2 separate regions of the Homo sapiens genome follow, and region 2 is linked to region 1. Evidence: promoter capture Hi-C in 16 types of primary human blood cells and fetal thymus (Javierre and others, 2016). All regions are on one chromosome and are shown on one strand. Each heading gives the region's core, a stretch centred on a gene start or on the middle of the fragment in contact. The rest is flanking DNA. Distances are from core to core; before and after follow the strand shown. Region 1 holds the start of ZBTB11-AS1 (ZBTB11 antisense RNA 1). Region 2 holds the start of ATG3 (autophagy related 3).

Region 1 (6,961 bases), core at 1,583-4,082:
GCTCATAAAAGCAAAATGTTAAGATTTTGCACTGGGAAGAGTCATTTTTTGTAATAGTTTTATTTAGGGAATTACTGGGAAAATAAAGTCATTATACCCAACTTGAATGTAAAGCTATGCTTGCTGATTTTTGGAGAATAAAATGTCTGGGCTAAATGTTGGCTTTTAATAAAGTGGAGCTGCCCATTGTCATTACCCTTGGGTCTTAGGTAACCTGGGACCCAGAAGAAGCTAGAAATAAACACTACCTGTTCTCACTACAGCAAGTTTAGCTTTACTCAGGAAGACAATTTGACCACTGGGAAAGCATTTTATTAAAACGTTTGTTTCTATTGGCCCAAAGGATAATGCGTGCATCAGTAGGCTTCTCAGTGCTTACAGGTGGTGTTTTGGCAAAAACTGAGTGGAGGGATTTTTTTAACTCTTCTACAACCTAGCTGTATTGTTTGCAGATTTGAATGTATTCACTTAATATATTAAATATTTAATATTAAATATCAATTAACTTAAAATGTTTAGTTTTTTTATTTTTTTGAGACGGAGTCTCCCTCTGTCACCCAGGCTGGAATGCAGTGGCACAATCTCGGCTCGCTACAACCTCTGCTTCCCGGGTTCAAGCGATCCTCCTGCCTCAGCCTCCCGAGTAGCTGGGACTTCAGGCCCAGTAGAGACAGGGTTTCACCATGTTAGCCAGGATGGTCTCCATCTCCTGACCTCGTGATTTGCCCGCCTCGGCCTCCCAAAGTGCTGGGATTACAGGCGTGAGTCACCGCGCCCGGCCAAAATATTTAAAGACAGTATGACAGGAGAGTGGGGTTGGCCTGACACGTAGACCAGCCTCCTGGGTTCGCAGAGGGTGCATTTGGTCTTCTGCTCTCACTGCCCGACCCCATGGGGGAAAGAGGTGCATCTCCATTTTTAAATTCCTCCTTTGAGCTATAGTGGCAAACTCAGCAACTAAGTAGATCCCAAGCCTGGTAGTTTCTTTTTTCTTCTGGGCCTTGAGAGCTCATGTCCCCGCACCTGGAATCTTTCAAGGATGTCCGGGCCATCCGGGAATTACTGCGTGTGCACACACACAAAAACACGCCCCTAACACCAGAGGCTGGCTGTATGATTCTGTTTTCGAGCCTACTGTATTCACCTGTCTGCCCGTCAGCTACTTCTAGGAGCGTCAAAGGGCCTCACCCAGAGACTACAGACCCTCCGGTGGAGAAGTGTACTAGGCCGTGTCTGCAGCTGGAGCCCTCGGCCTGAAATGTTCTGGCTTTAGCAAAGCGGCGACAGTGTCCAACCCCAGTCCCCGAGGAGGGATGTCAGCCCTGGGCCCCTGTGAGCGCTGCAGATTCGTCCCAGGAAAGGGTGACCGGGGTCGCTGCTCCGGGATTACCAGCTAAATACCTGTATTAGCATCCTCAGCACGCACTGGGAGACGCAGCTCAAGTCCGCTCCCCTTCTTGCACCCTCATATATATTTGGTGCAAAATGGAGAACCTTTTCCCCTACGTTTGTGTAAAAATATATGTAAATAAAGCCTTAAAATAGTGTTACCGACCCCCTTTTCCACTCGCAATAACATTGACTATAAATGCTGATAATTCCAAAAGAATCTCGACTCTTCCTTGAGTAGTCTGGAGCTAGCAGGTGCAAGTTTAGAAACAATAACTCATCACTGAGGGAGGCACTGAAAATTTTATAACTGTTAACTGGAATCTAAATTTCCATGTAAATGGGCTGTCTCTGGTCCCGTGTCAAGAGACTAATATTTTTCCAGAAGCCTGAAAATATGCTTTTATGATGTTGGGAGTCTCAAACGTAAAAACGGACTCCTAACCCTCTGGATGTTTCGGCTGAACTCTCAACTGTCCACCAGCTCCCCCTACACGTGGCTCCTTAGAAAGCGTGGAAAAGGGAAAAATGAAAAGAGAAACTGCCAGGACTTAAGATGTCTGCTTAAAGACTCCCTCGAACTGCAGTGAAGGGTCCTACCCGCTTCCAAAATGTCCACCCGCATTCCTGACGTCACTGGATCGGCTCCATCAAGCCAGAAAACGAGAGTGCGCTCCAATCAGGGCTCAGTCCCCGCCCTTGCCTTGCGTCACTTCCGGTGGTGCAGCAGCCATTTTGTCAGTCGCCAGCGGATCCCGCGCGCTGGAGAAGTGCAGTTCCCCCTGGTTACCAACTCGCCCGCTTTTCCTTCGGACTAAGGGAGCCGTCGAAGAGCGCTCGCCAAAGGCGCAGCCGTTTCTCCCTACGGTGCCGCCGCTCCTCCTGCAGCCGCCCGTAGGTAGCGGGCCGTTTTCCTCACCTGTCCCTGACAGGCGCCCTCAGGGAGCCGCGGTCCGCGATGTCAAGCGAGGAAAGCTACCGGGCCATCCTGCGTTACCTGACGAACGAGCGCGAGCCGTATGCGCCGGGCACCGAGGGCAATGTCAAGCGTAAAATCCGAAAAGCTGCCGCCTGCTACGTGGTGCGCGGCGGGACTCTGTATTACCAGCGGCGGCAGCGGCACCGCAAGACCTTCGCGGAGCTGGAGGTGGTGCTGCAGCCGGAGCGACGCCGGGACCTCATCGAGGCGGCGCACCTGGGTCCCGGCGGCACTCACCACACCCGGCATCAGACCTGGCACTACTTGTCCAAGACGTACTGGTGGCGAGGTGAGACCTAGCCCGCGGCGAGGGGGCGGGCTGGCGACTCGTTGCCTGGGCAAGGCTCGCTGGCGAGGCCTATGCGTACCCACGAGTCGGAGGGTCTCGGACGCCTCTGGGCGGCGGAGCTGCTGCCAGGCGGAGCCGAGAGGGTGGGGGACGCGAAAGGAGCCGCACTTCCCACAGGAAGGAGGCCGGCGAAGCTGGGGGCGGGCCCTGGCCCTGGGTGGGACCAAGGGGGCTTCCCCGGAGGCCGGGCCAGCCGCGGGGAGGGGCCGGACGCCTGGGCTGCGCCAGGTCCGCCTCCTTGGGCGGCCCCTTGAGGCTGTAGGCCCCGGCCCTCTGGAGGTGGCGTGTGGCTCGCGGCAGTGGAGGCTGCGGGGTGCACGTTTTCGACTGTGCTGACGTTTGGAAGGGGGGACGAGTCACCCGAAGCCGGGTCTCCCGTTTCTTTAGTGCTGCGCTTGGGTTTTGGCGAGCGAGTATGAGCTGCTCTGGACACATTCGCTAGTGTTCCTCAAATTTTGCCGCTGCTGCGTAAATAAGGAATAATACAATTATTTGCAGAAGTGATAAGGAGTGATTGAGAAATCGCCTTGAGCGTTTTTTTTTAAGAACAAGAAGTAAATGTAAAAGATATCAGTTACTGTTTTTGTTGTTTGGTTTTGCGGGGGCGGGGTGTTTGAGTAGACACGGGTCTCGCCTCGTTCCCCAAGCTGGTCTCCATCTGGCCTCAAGCCATCCTCCCGCCTCGGCCTCCCAAAGTGTTGGGATTTCAGGCATGAGCCACGGCGCCCAGCTTGATATTCGTAACTCTGAATGTTTTAATAATCTTTCCCCTAATGATGTGAAAAACGCGTTTGGGAACTGTGTAGCATTGTATATACGCAGAAAAGGTACGATTACTGTGACTTTTTGATTGTCAAAAAATACAGCTCTGAAGTTACTTGACTCCTTGGGAACCAGTTGTAAGGGAGGATAGCAAGTGTCCTTGGCTTCTTAACCATCTTCACTCTCCACAGTTAATGAATATTCAAACTGTCAGAATTAGTTAATAGTTTATAGTCCCATTTAAGAAATTTTGTTAGGAACAGTGCTGTCACTCTCCAATATGGCTACAGAAAAGTTATTTCATTCAAATCTTGGTTACTTCGTCTGTGAATAACGAAATTACTGAATAGTTTCTAAAGTTCTTTTCGGTTTATAAACATCATCAAGTTTATTCGTTTACGAACTATTGGATAATCAAATTCTTCCATTTATTTTCCACTTTAAACCAATATCTGAATTAAATTCCTGTAAGGACAGACAAATGCGAAGATTAAATTATGAGGTAATGAAGTAATCAGTGCATTTTGTTTGGATGGGTTTGGGTAGACATTAGTTTGTTGAACAAATGTCTCAGATTTAATACTTCAGGATTTGTTAAAGATGATAATTGTAACTATAGGTAACATTGATCAAGCTTGTATATGCAGGATGTAGTCGTTAGCCCTTGACATTTATTTAACCTTCATAAAACCTTAATACTTATCTCCCTTTTTTGGAGACAGAGCGTAGGGGGTCTTGCTTGGTGCAGTGACAACGATCACAGCTCACTGTAGCCTCGACCTCCTAGGCTCAGATGATCCTCCCTTTTCAGCCTCTATCTGTTTTACAGATGAAAAAACTAAAAGCACTAGGATGTTAAATAACACAACAAAAGTCACACAGCTGACCTTTGTGATCTCACACTTTTCTTAACCCAGTGTTATGTGGTATTTTGTGTTCAGAATTTTTCTTTTTCTAAGTTCATTATCTGTGAGTGATTCTAATCCAGTTGTTTTTTTTTTAATTTTTAGTGTGCAGTGTCTTAAAAGGCAAAAACCTGAGACGATGTTTATTTATTTATTTATTTATTTTATTTATTTATTTATTGAGACAGAGTCACTCTGTTGCCCAGGCTGGAGTGCAGTGGCGCGATATCGGCTCACTGCAACTCCACCTCCCGGGTTCAAGCGATTCTGGTGCCTCAGTCTCCAGAGTAGCTGGGATTACACCACGCCCAGCTAATTTTTCTATTTTTAGTAGCGACGGGGTTTCACCATGTTGGCCAGGCTGGGCTCGAACTCCTGAGCTCAGATGATCTGCTCACCTCGACCTCCCAAAGCGCTGGGATTACGGGTGTAAGCCACAGCGCCCGGCCAATACAACCTCTTTTGGTCTCTAAATCTACACTCATATAAATGCTTTTTTGATAAAGTTATATTTAACTCGAACCCATTGTTCCTTTCTTTCTTTTCTTCTCTTTTTTTCTTTGAGACAGAGTCTTGTTCTGTCACCCAGGCCGGAGCACAGTGGCGCGATCTCGGCTCACTGCAGCCTTCGCCTCCCAGGCTCACGTGATTCTGGTGCCTCAGCCTCCGGAGTAGCTGGGACTACAGGCGCGTGCCTCCACACCTAGCTAATTTTTGTTTTGCTCTGTTGGCCAGGCTTGTCTCGAACTTCTTACCTCAAATGATCCGCCCACCTCAGCCTCCCAAAGTGTGTGAGCCACGCCCCAAGCCCCATTGTTTATGTTCTGCAAAAAAAAAAAAAAACAGTCTCTGTGAATCCATAAATTTGACAAATTCCTAGGTTAAACAGGTTTCTTCACCGTAGAAGTCAGAGGTTCTAATAATAAATGTCAATTGCATATAGCTAAAATTTTTCTGAATTTATGACTTCAGTGTATACTTTTATAATCAGTGTGGGACATAATACAATTTGGAAAATATTGCTTGAATACTATTTGAAGATTGAAAGTATAAGGAACTTGGTGGCCAGGCAAGGTGGCTCATGCCCGTCATCCCAGCACTTTGGGAGGCCAAGGCGGGCAGATCACTTGAGGTCAGGAGTTTGAGACCAGCCTGGCAAAAATAGTGAAACCCCATCTCTACTAAAAATACAAAAAATTAGCCAGGTGTGGTGGCGGGCGCCTGTAATCCCAGCTACTCGGGAGGCTGAGGTGGGAGTATCACTTGAACCCAGGAGGCGGAGGTTGCAGTGAGCCGGGATCCCACCACTGCACTCCAGCCTGGGCAACAGAGAGAGACTCCATTTCAAAAAAAAAAAAGTGTAAGGAGCTTTGTATAATTCGACATTTTAAAACACTTTTCAGGAATATTCTCTATACCATACCTCTATCATTTTACCTCATAACCTTTTCATTTGTACTTATTTGAAGATTTGGGGGTAACTTTCTGCCCTAGGAATGGACAAGCGTGCTCTTGTGTAAGTAGAATAATATACCGAAAATCCCATGACTTCTGGAGGCCTAGCTCTGCCATTTTACTAGATGTGACTTTGGACAAGCTACATACCTCTTAGGGCTTTATTTTCCTCTTGTATAGAATGGGAATTAATTGTTCTCTTACAAGGATGATAGTGGGATGTGTGTACATATACATAAAGCCTTGTCCCTGCCTCCTCACCCCTACCCTAGCATGCTGGGAGCTGGAAGTTGAAATTCAAAATCTTTTGTGAGTGGCTTGTATATAATCAACTTTTGTTAGATTGTGTATGCTTTTATTTCACACAACCCTAAAATCTCATAACTTTCAAAAACAAAAGATTTATTTTAAACTTTCATTACAAGTTTTGTAGTAGTCCTGTTCCAGGCTACAGATTGGTTTCAGCTTTTTTCATCTGAAATTCAGGTTTAAGAACAACATCCCTCTGGGACATTGCTGTTCTTTGTGAGAGGGGACAAAGATCAGAGAACTGGTGCAAAATACTCAGTACCTCTTAAGGTTCTGTTCAGATATGGTACACATCACATGTGTGCAAATCAAATCACACGGTCAAGCCTAATGTCACTGGGGTGGAGAAGTATTAGCTTGAGCCATATTAAATTGTTAATTTGTTTGGTTTTGTTTTGAGACAGAGTCTTGGTCTGTTGCCCAGGCTGGAGTGCAGTGGCACAATCTCAGCTCACTGCAACCTCCGCCTCCCGGGTTATTAGTGAGTCTCCGGCCTCAGCCTCCAGAGTAGCTGGGATTACAGGCGTGCGCCATCATGCCCTAAATTGTTAATTTGTGTAGGTCAAAAAAAGGTGAATATTGGCAGTTTCATATAGTTCCTCTTGCATGAAAACATTGCAACTCACATGAAAATGGGTGGAGCTATATAGTCATCTTATGATTAGAGAAACAAATAACTGGGAATAAATAAAAAAAATTACCTCAGCAGGAGAACATCATTTATAACTTTATATTTTTTGGGAAAAAAGTATATTTTACATTCTAATAAACTCTACATATTTTATGGGACATGAATGTCTGCACATATGTACT
Region 2 (6,961 bases), core at 1,321-3,820, about 11 Mb before region 1:
CAATGGAATGTCTCGGAGTAAAACCCGATTGTATATTCCATCTACTGAGATAGGGGAAAACCGCCTTAGGGCTGGAGGTGGGACATGCGGGCAACAATACTGCTCTTTAAGGCATTGAAATGTTTATGTGTATACATATCTAAAGCAAAGCACTTAATTCTTTACCTTGTTTATGATGCAGAGACCTTTGTTCACGTGTTTACCTGTTGACCCTCTCTCCACTACTATCCTATGATCCTGCCACATCCCACTCTCCGAGAAACACCCAATAATGATCAATAAATACTAATGGAACTCAGAGGCTGGCAGAGATCCTCCGTGTGCTGAGCGCCGGTCCCCTGGGCCCCCTTTTTTCTTTCTCTATACTTTGTCTATGTCCCTTTCTTTTCCAAGTCTCTCGTTCCACCTAACGAGAAACACCCACAGATGTGGAGGGGCAACCCACCCCTTCACTCAATAACTAGTAAGAAGTACTCAATACAGTTTTGTGGAATTAAAGTGTTTGCTTAAATCCCTACATAAAAAAAGATTTCTTAAATACATACTTATCAAAGCTTATAATTTATACTGTTGATACAATATGACCGCACAATATAATGCTGACACCTTACCATTGATACAATAATTACAATAGTAAGTACCTCACAAATGCCAAGTGACCAAACAAATATATCCTTCTACTTCAAAATAAGGCGCAATTACACATTTTGCTATAGGTCCAGAAACACCTGTTGATTGAATTAACAGTCAAATGTTACGACTGGTTCTTCACCAAAGGGTTTGATTTTTGTATCTGATTGACTCACATTTCATCCATTATCAAACATTTTTTCTTGTTGAGGAATGCAAGGTTAAATAATCAAATTTAAATATGCTTTATCACTCACATGAAGCAAAAGGCATTATTATTTCCATGTTATATATAACAGAACCAAAGGCAAGAGAGAGATGTGTGATTAGATGGAAGTGCTCCATGCATATACCAAGTCTTAACTTACCTTCATTGGCAGAATACTTCACTAGTAAGATGCGACTTGAGCTTAAAGCAATGAATATGGCACCTAGCAGGAATGTATACATTGTTGACAAGGAGCATATTACAGGATGACTACAGCACTGTTTTTCCATTCCACTGTTTTTTAATTACCTTAAAGAGAAAAACACTTTCATGAACGACCTTGTTGGCAGACCCTAAACGCAAATACCATTGATCGTGAGGACAAAAAAGGAATTTTTAAAAAATTTTGGCTATGACTATATCAGCACCAAGAAAGTTGAGGCATAAAGAAACTATGACAAAAGGAAAGTGAAAATCTGATAAGAGGGAGTACTCTGGAGACAGAAAACGTAGAACCAGATTAGACCTGCTGACAAAGGTAGCAGGTGAGCAAATGACACTTTGCAACAGCAGAAAAGAATTCTTCAAAGCAATTTTGAATTTTATTTTTAAATTTTATTTATTTATGTATTTTGAGACGGAGTCTCGCTCTGTCACCCAGGCTGGAGTGCAACGGCGCGGTCTTGGCTCACTGCAACCCCTACCTACCGGACTCAAGCGATTCTCCTGCGTCAGCCTCCAGAATAGCTGGGACTACAAGCGCCCGCCACCACGCCCGGCTAATTTTTGTATTTTTAGTAGAGACGGGGTTTCACTATGTTGGCCAGGCTGGTCTCGAACTCCTGACTGTGATCCGCCCGCCTCTGCCTCCCAAAGTGCTGGGATTACAGGCGTGAGCCACCGCGCCCGGCCTCGCTTTTACTCTTATTAGTAAATAATTTTGCTGTAAGATAAGGCTTTCAGAATTGTATTTTCCTCCTCTTTTCCCTCGGAGGAAAAAGCTTATTAGGACAGACTTCATTACAATAACGACCAAAATGGAAATATCTGAAACACTGCTGTAAAGTTTTACTGAACTAGTTAGTGTTTGAAATGGAGGAGATCGTAGAAATCAATGAATCTAAGGCCCTCTTTTGATAGGCTGAGGACACTAAACCCCAGGTTGGGTAAGTAACTTGCCCAAAGCCTCCCAGCGTACTGTAGGAATAGCGCATAGAGCCTGCGGGGAGTGGGGAGAAATGCCAATACTGACAGCCCCATTGGGCGCACGCCTACAGGACGCCTCCCCGACAGGAGGGGGCCAGATTTCCCTTCACAGTCAGGGACTACCCTTCTAGTCACACATGCGCAGTAGGGCTCTTCACTGGCGCACCCTCCCCTCAGACGCAGGCGCAATTCCTTGCCCGCGGGGCGCGGTTACCTCCCTCAGAAGAGCTTCTAGTGGAAGAACGCACATCCTAGAGCTGAGACAGTAACTGTCTAGCCCCGTAGTAGCAGCAGTAGCCTTTAGGGTCCATACGTGGAGAAGCTACAGTAGGTATAGGCGAAAAAGCCCCTCCCTCTAAGCCGCCTATTGCAGAACAAAAACCACGATTACGTCCGGATTGGGAAAAAGCGGACCCGACACCCATTGCGCAGGCACGTTCAGTGTTACGCTTCCGGAAGGAGGGGAGAAGCGGCTTATCCCGCCCCAGCCCGGCCCCTTTCTCACGTCACGTGCCGGGAGAGTCTAGTGTCACGTGAGGCCCCGGTGGCGGCGCAGCTACGGCAAGAGAGTGAGAAGGAAGGGAAGCCGGAAGGGGCGCGAGTGAAGCAAAGCGAGGACAGACAGCTCGCAGAGGGCGAGGGGTGCGTGTGCGTCCGCTTCTCACCTCAGGTCTCCCTTCGGCCCCGCTGCCCTCCCTCGCGGCTGGGTGACAGCTGGGTCCGGTCCGTCGCGGGCTGCCTGGGGTGCGAGGATCGCGCACCCCGTCTTCGCGCGCTGTGCCTGCCGCCCCGCCCCCTCGTCCCGCCCGTCCCGTCGCGTCGCGTCCCGTCCCCTCGGGTGCTGCCAGCCGGGTGCTGATGCGAGTCGGTGGCAGCGAGGACATTTTCTGACTCCCTGGCCCCTGACACGGCTGCACTTTCCATCCCGTCGCGGGGCCGGCCGCTACTCCGGCCCCAGGATGCAGAATGTGATTAATACTGTGAAGGGAAAGGCACTGGAAGTGGCTGAGTACCTGACCCCGGTCCTCAAGGTAAGCCAGGCCAGGGTTGCCGGGAGCTGTCAGGCACATGCTCGACTTTTCAGGGACCAGGCGCCGCAGGAGTCCCCGCTTTCTCCGGCGGGGCAAGGTGTAGGAAGGCAGTAGGGCTCGAGACACAGGGAAGTGTGCAGCCCCCACCCGTAGTCTTAACCGGCTGTTCGTTAGGGCTTTCTGACTCCTCAGGGGTAAACTTGGAGCGACGCTCTGCGTGTTCCTGCCTTCTCCCGTCATAACTCTGCGCGGTCGGGTACGTCGGGTTGGAAGGGTGTTCGGAGGCTGAGTAGATTGAAGAACGTTAAATCCAAACACTGGAAGTCTTTTAGCCTTTTTAAGCAAGGATTTTGCTTCTCTTTAAAAAATGAATTTAGTGTTTGACACACAGAGGTCAAAAGAGACCTGAGGTGAGGTCACTTTTCCTTTAAGTTTCATGAAAGTCCGCTGTAGTGGGGAAGTTGTGACTGCGATCCCAACTCGTTTAGATTTCAGAGGAAGGAGGTGAAATTGGCAACATTATCTCATTCAGTAACCTTGAACCCATCTAACGAGCAAAACCTTTTTCCCAAGCTTTTCAGATAGCCGTAGCTGGTTATTAGTGATAACAAGGCACGGTTTGACCTTCCTGGCTGTATAATTTTTAAAAATATATTGGCAACAGTACAGCATTTTTAAAGTAAAAAATTGTGACACATTAGCTGTTACAGTAGTGACTGATTTTTTTTTTAAAGGTAAATTTCTACAACTGCCTTCAAGCTTTTCTTTTATAACTCTTTTGGAGTGTTTTGTTGTAACTTCATTTTTGCTTTCTGAAAAGTGAGCAAGAATAGTAAATTAATGGGAAGTTCTTGCTTAGTTTTTGTTTTTTTTTTCTAGTTGTTTTTAAGCTTTCAGTTAGAATGTACCAATCTCAGTGTGGGGGTGAAATACCTTAATATGCTAAGAATAGTGGAGAGTTTTGCTTTGCTCCCTTTCCATGACAAAGGGAAGTACTAGGTCTATACTTTTTAAAATACGTTTTTGTAAAGCTCCTTTTAAAAGAATAACTTATTGGCCAAGTAAGAAATAAACCAGCGATTATAAATGAGAATTTCAACTGTTGCTTTGCTTACATTTGTTTACTGTGAAAGTCATTTTAAGATTATTCAGTCAAACTAAGATTGGAAAATAATTTTCACATTTGAATCAAATGCTTTTACATAATTATGTTAACTTTTCAGAATATCATATCTACCTAGGTATACAGTATTTTAATAATACACCATTGTACAACTTTTTAGTTTCCGGGAGAGAGGAGCAAGAGACTGCCCAAATGAAATATAAAATGTATGATGTAGAATTATGTTTTCAGGAGTCCATCATACTTGCTCACCAAACTGAAAAGGAACTGTTGGCATGTCAGTATGTATGGTATATGTCTTTAGTAAAAAGGAAAGAATGAATGACCGTCTCCTTGATACTCCTGTGCAAACTGTTGTTTACAGAGAGAATCCTTACAGTTTCCTGCTTAGGGAGGGCAAGGAGAAAGAACAAAATCCTCAGGAAATAAGTAATAGCCTTCTCCTAGCAAGTAAAAATTAAGAAAAATCATGTTTTGTTTGGAGTATGTACATGCAGTAAACACTGAAGTTCTTACAATCATCTCTAAGGTTCTGCTTAATTGGTAGAGGCCCCAATCTCATCTGCTCCATCCCCTGACTGCTGTTGCTTAAGCTAACCTGATCTCTTTATTATTCTGTTAAGCACACTCTTGGTTTGGGGTTTTGCATGTGCTCTTCCCTCTATCTGAAACGCGCTTCGCACTTAACAGCCTTATGGCATGTTCCTTTCCTTAAGGTTTTTAAGTCATTATTCAGTGAAGTCTTTGTTCTCTTACCATTCTATTTTAAATGGCCATCTCTCCCCAGCCACCCCACAGATTCCTCTCAGCTTCATTTTTCTTTATGGTATGTTATTCATTACCATTTGGCTTTTCTTCCTCAACTGGAGTTGAAACTCCTTATGAGGGCAAGAATAAATTTGTATTTATGTTATTCACCCCCAAATATCCCCACTGCCTCAAATAGTGTCTGGCACATAGTAAACATTTGTTGAATGAATAATGTTTATAAATGAGTGTTTTCATTTTTGTAGACTCTACCAGAAAATCTTACATATAACTTAAAGTTTAGAAAAATTTAGAGAATAGTGTGTCAGTATCTTGGTGGAGATGAGAATTAGAGGAAAATGCTAAATAATTTCTAGATTTGGTTTCTAACATTATTCAGTTTAAATAAGACTGGCTGAATTGTAAGATGTCTAAACATCTTTAAGACATTTTTGCTGTGCTGTAAAATAAAGGTATTTGTTCATTTCACAGAATCACTGTAAGGCTTTATTTTTATTTAAATCTTAGAATGTTTGTACATAGAGCTTGGCCGGGCGCAGTGGCTCACGCCTGTAATCCCAGCACATTGGGAGGCCGAGGCGGGTGGATCACCTGAGGTCAGGAGTTCGAGACCAGCCTGACAAACATGGAGAAACCCTGTCTCTACTAAAAATGCAAAAATTAGCCGGGCATGGTGGCACATGCCTGTAATCCCAGCTACAGGCAGGAGGCTGAGGCAGGAGAATCGCTTGAACCCGGGAGGTGGAGGTTGCCGTGAGCCAAGATGGCGCCACTGCACTCCAGCCTGGGCAACAGGAGTGAAACTCCATCTTAAAAAAAAAAAAAAAGAATGTTTCTACATAGAGCTTTACTCTATTATAGCACTGATCTGATAGTATTATAATTATTTTCATGTCTGTTTCCTACATTAGACTTGTATATTCCTGTGGTCATTACCAGTGAGTGAAACAGATAGATAGATATAGATAGATACCAATGAGGTAGGTAGATAGGTAGATTAGATAGATTATAGATTAGATAGATAGACTAATTTTTTTTTGTATGTGCTCTATTGCCTAGAAGGGCACCAGGCAAATAATTGCCCCCAAAATATATTTAATTGATAGTGAAACATGATATAATATTGTTTTTCTTTCTGCTTTTTTTAGGAATCAAAGTTTAAGGAAACAGGTGTAATTACCCCAGAAGAGGTGAGTGCTGAAGATATACTGAAGTCTTTTTATTTTACAATAATACTAAACTAGGTGGCTTTTCTGCTTCATAAGAAAACATCTTGAACTTTAATTTTGATTTGAGTAAAATTAGGTTTTATGACTGTGATTTATGGGAATTTCTACTTCCCATAGAAGAAAAGATGTAACTTCCCCGTCAGTTTGCCACTTCTCATATTTCTCTGTAGTTCCTCTTTATTTAGAAATGAGGGTGAAAGAAGGGATCAAAATGAGTCCTATGTCACTTATCCTTGACTTGTATTGGTGTTATATTGAGCTGTGCAGTAAGCTCTGTAATGTCTGTGGTGTCTTGGTTCTGTTTACATCAAATGTGAGTTTTCATGCTTTTCATTGGAAAACTTTGCTTACTACTTAGATATTGTTTTCTCTTAAGAGTTCTATTTCGTTGTCGGTGGAGAAGTAAATACTGGGCTAAAAACCTTTTCAGGCTCCAATTTTATGAATAATTATGGTTTTATCAGACTTAGGTTGTTCTTAATAAGAGACAATTTATTTAAGCTTGAATTTTTTTTTTTCTGCCAATGAAAACACCACTTTTTGGCAATAGAACTTTATTCACTGTTTTGAAACAAACGTTTTAAGCCTTATTTTATGATAAGGCTGCTGCTGTTAAGGTCCAAGGTGTGGAGCTAGAGAATTAACTGATCTTTCAATTTTCAGTTGTGATGGAATTTGTCTAGTTCCAAATCTTTGTGGTTTTTTTAATTTTTTTTTCTTGAGACGGAGTCTCCCTCTGTCACCAGGCTGGAGCACAGTGGCGCGA

The links. The method cuts DNA at HindIII sites, captures the fragments that hold promoters and counts their contacts. A CHiCAGO score of 5 or more calls a contact.
Region 2: a contact is called between the fragment with the promoter of ATG3 here and the fragment with the promoter of ZBTB11-AS1 in region 1, in 1 of 17 cell types (total CD8 T cells). The highest score is 8.0, in total CD8 T cells.

The regions. Positions count from the first base shown.
Region 1 is chr3:101,672,301-101,679,261 of GRCh38, reverse strand. ZBTB11-AS1 (ZBTB11 antisense RNA 1) reads right to left here and starts at 2,832. Exons shown (of 1, transcript NR_024407.1): 1 at 45-2,832. It overlaps ZBTB11 (zinc finger and BTB domain containing 11), which reads left to right and starts at 2,130. Exons shown (of 11, transcript NM_014415.4): 1 at 2,130-2,657. The coding sequence starts at 2,348. It overlaps LOC124906262 (endogenous retrovirus group K member 5 Gag polyprotein), which reads right to left and starts at 2,817. Exons shown (of 3, transcript XM_047449415.1): 1 at 1,024-2,817. RefSeq lists enhancers at 2,438-2,992, 4,886-5,386 and a silencer at 2,709-3,078. The HindIII fragment of the contact is 10,842 bases long and covers 1-4,115 here.
Region 2 is chr3:112,557,571-112,564,531 of GRCh38, reverse strand. It overlaps ATG3 (autophagy related 3), which reads left to right and starts at 2,570. Exons shown (of 12, transcript NM_022488.5): 1 at 2,570-3,075; 2 at 6,115-6,156. The coding sequence starts at 3,004. It overlaps SLC35A5 (solute carrier family 35 member A5), which reads right to left and starts at 2,487. Exons shown (of 7, transcript NM_017945.5): 1 at 2,259-2,487; 2 at 999-1,147. The coding sequence starts at 1,128. RefSeq lists enhancers at 1-568, 2,189-2,998, 2,999-3,808. The HindIII fragment of the contact is 1,809 bases long and covers 1,842-3,650 here.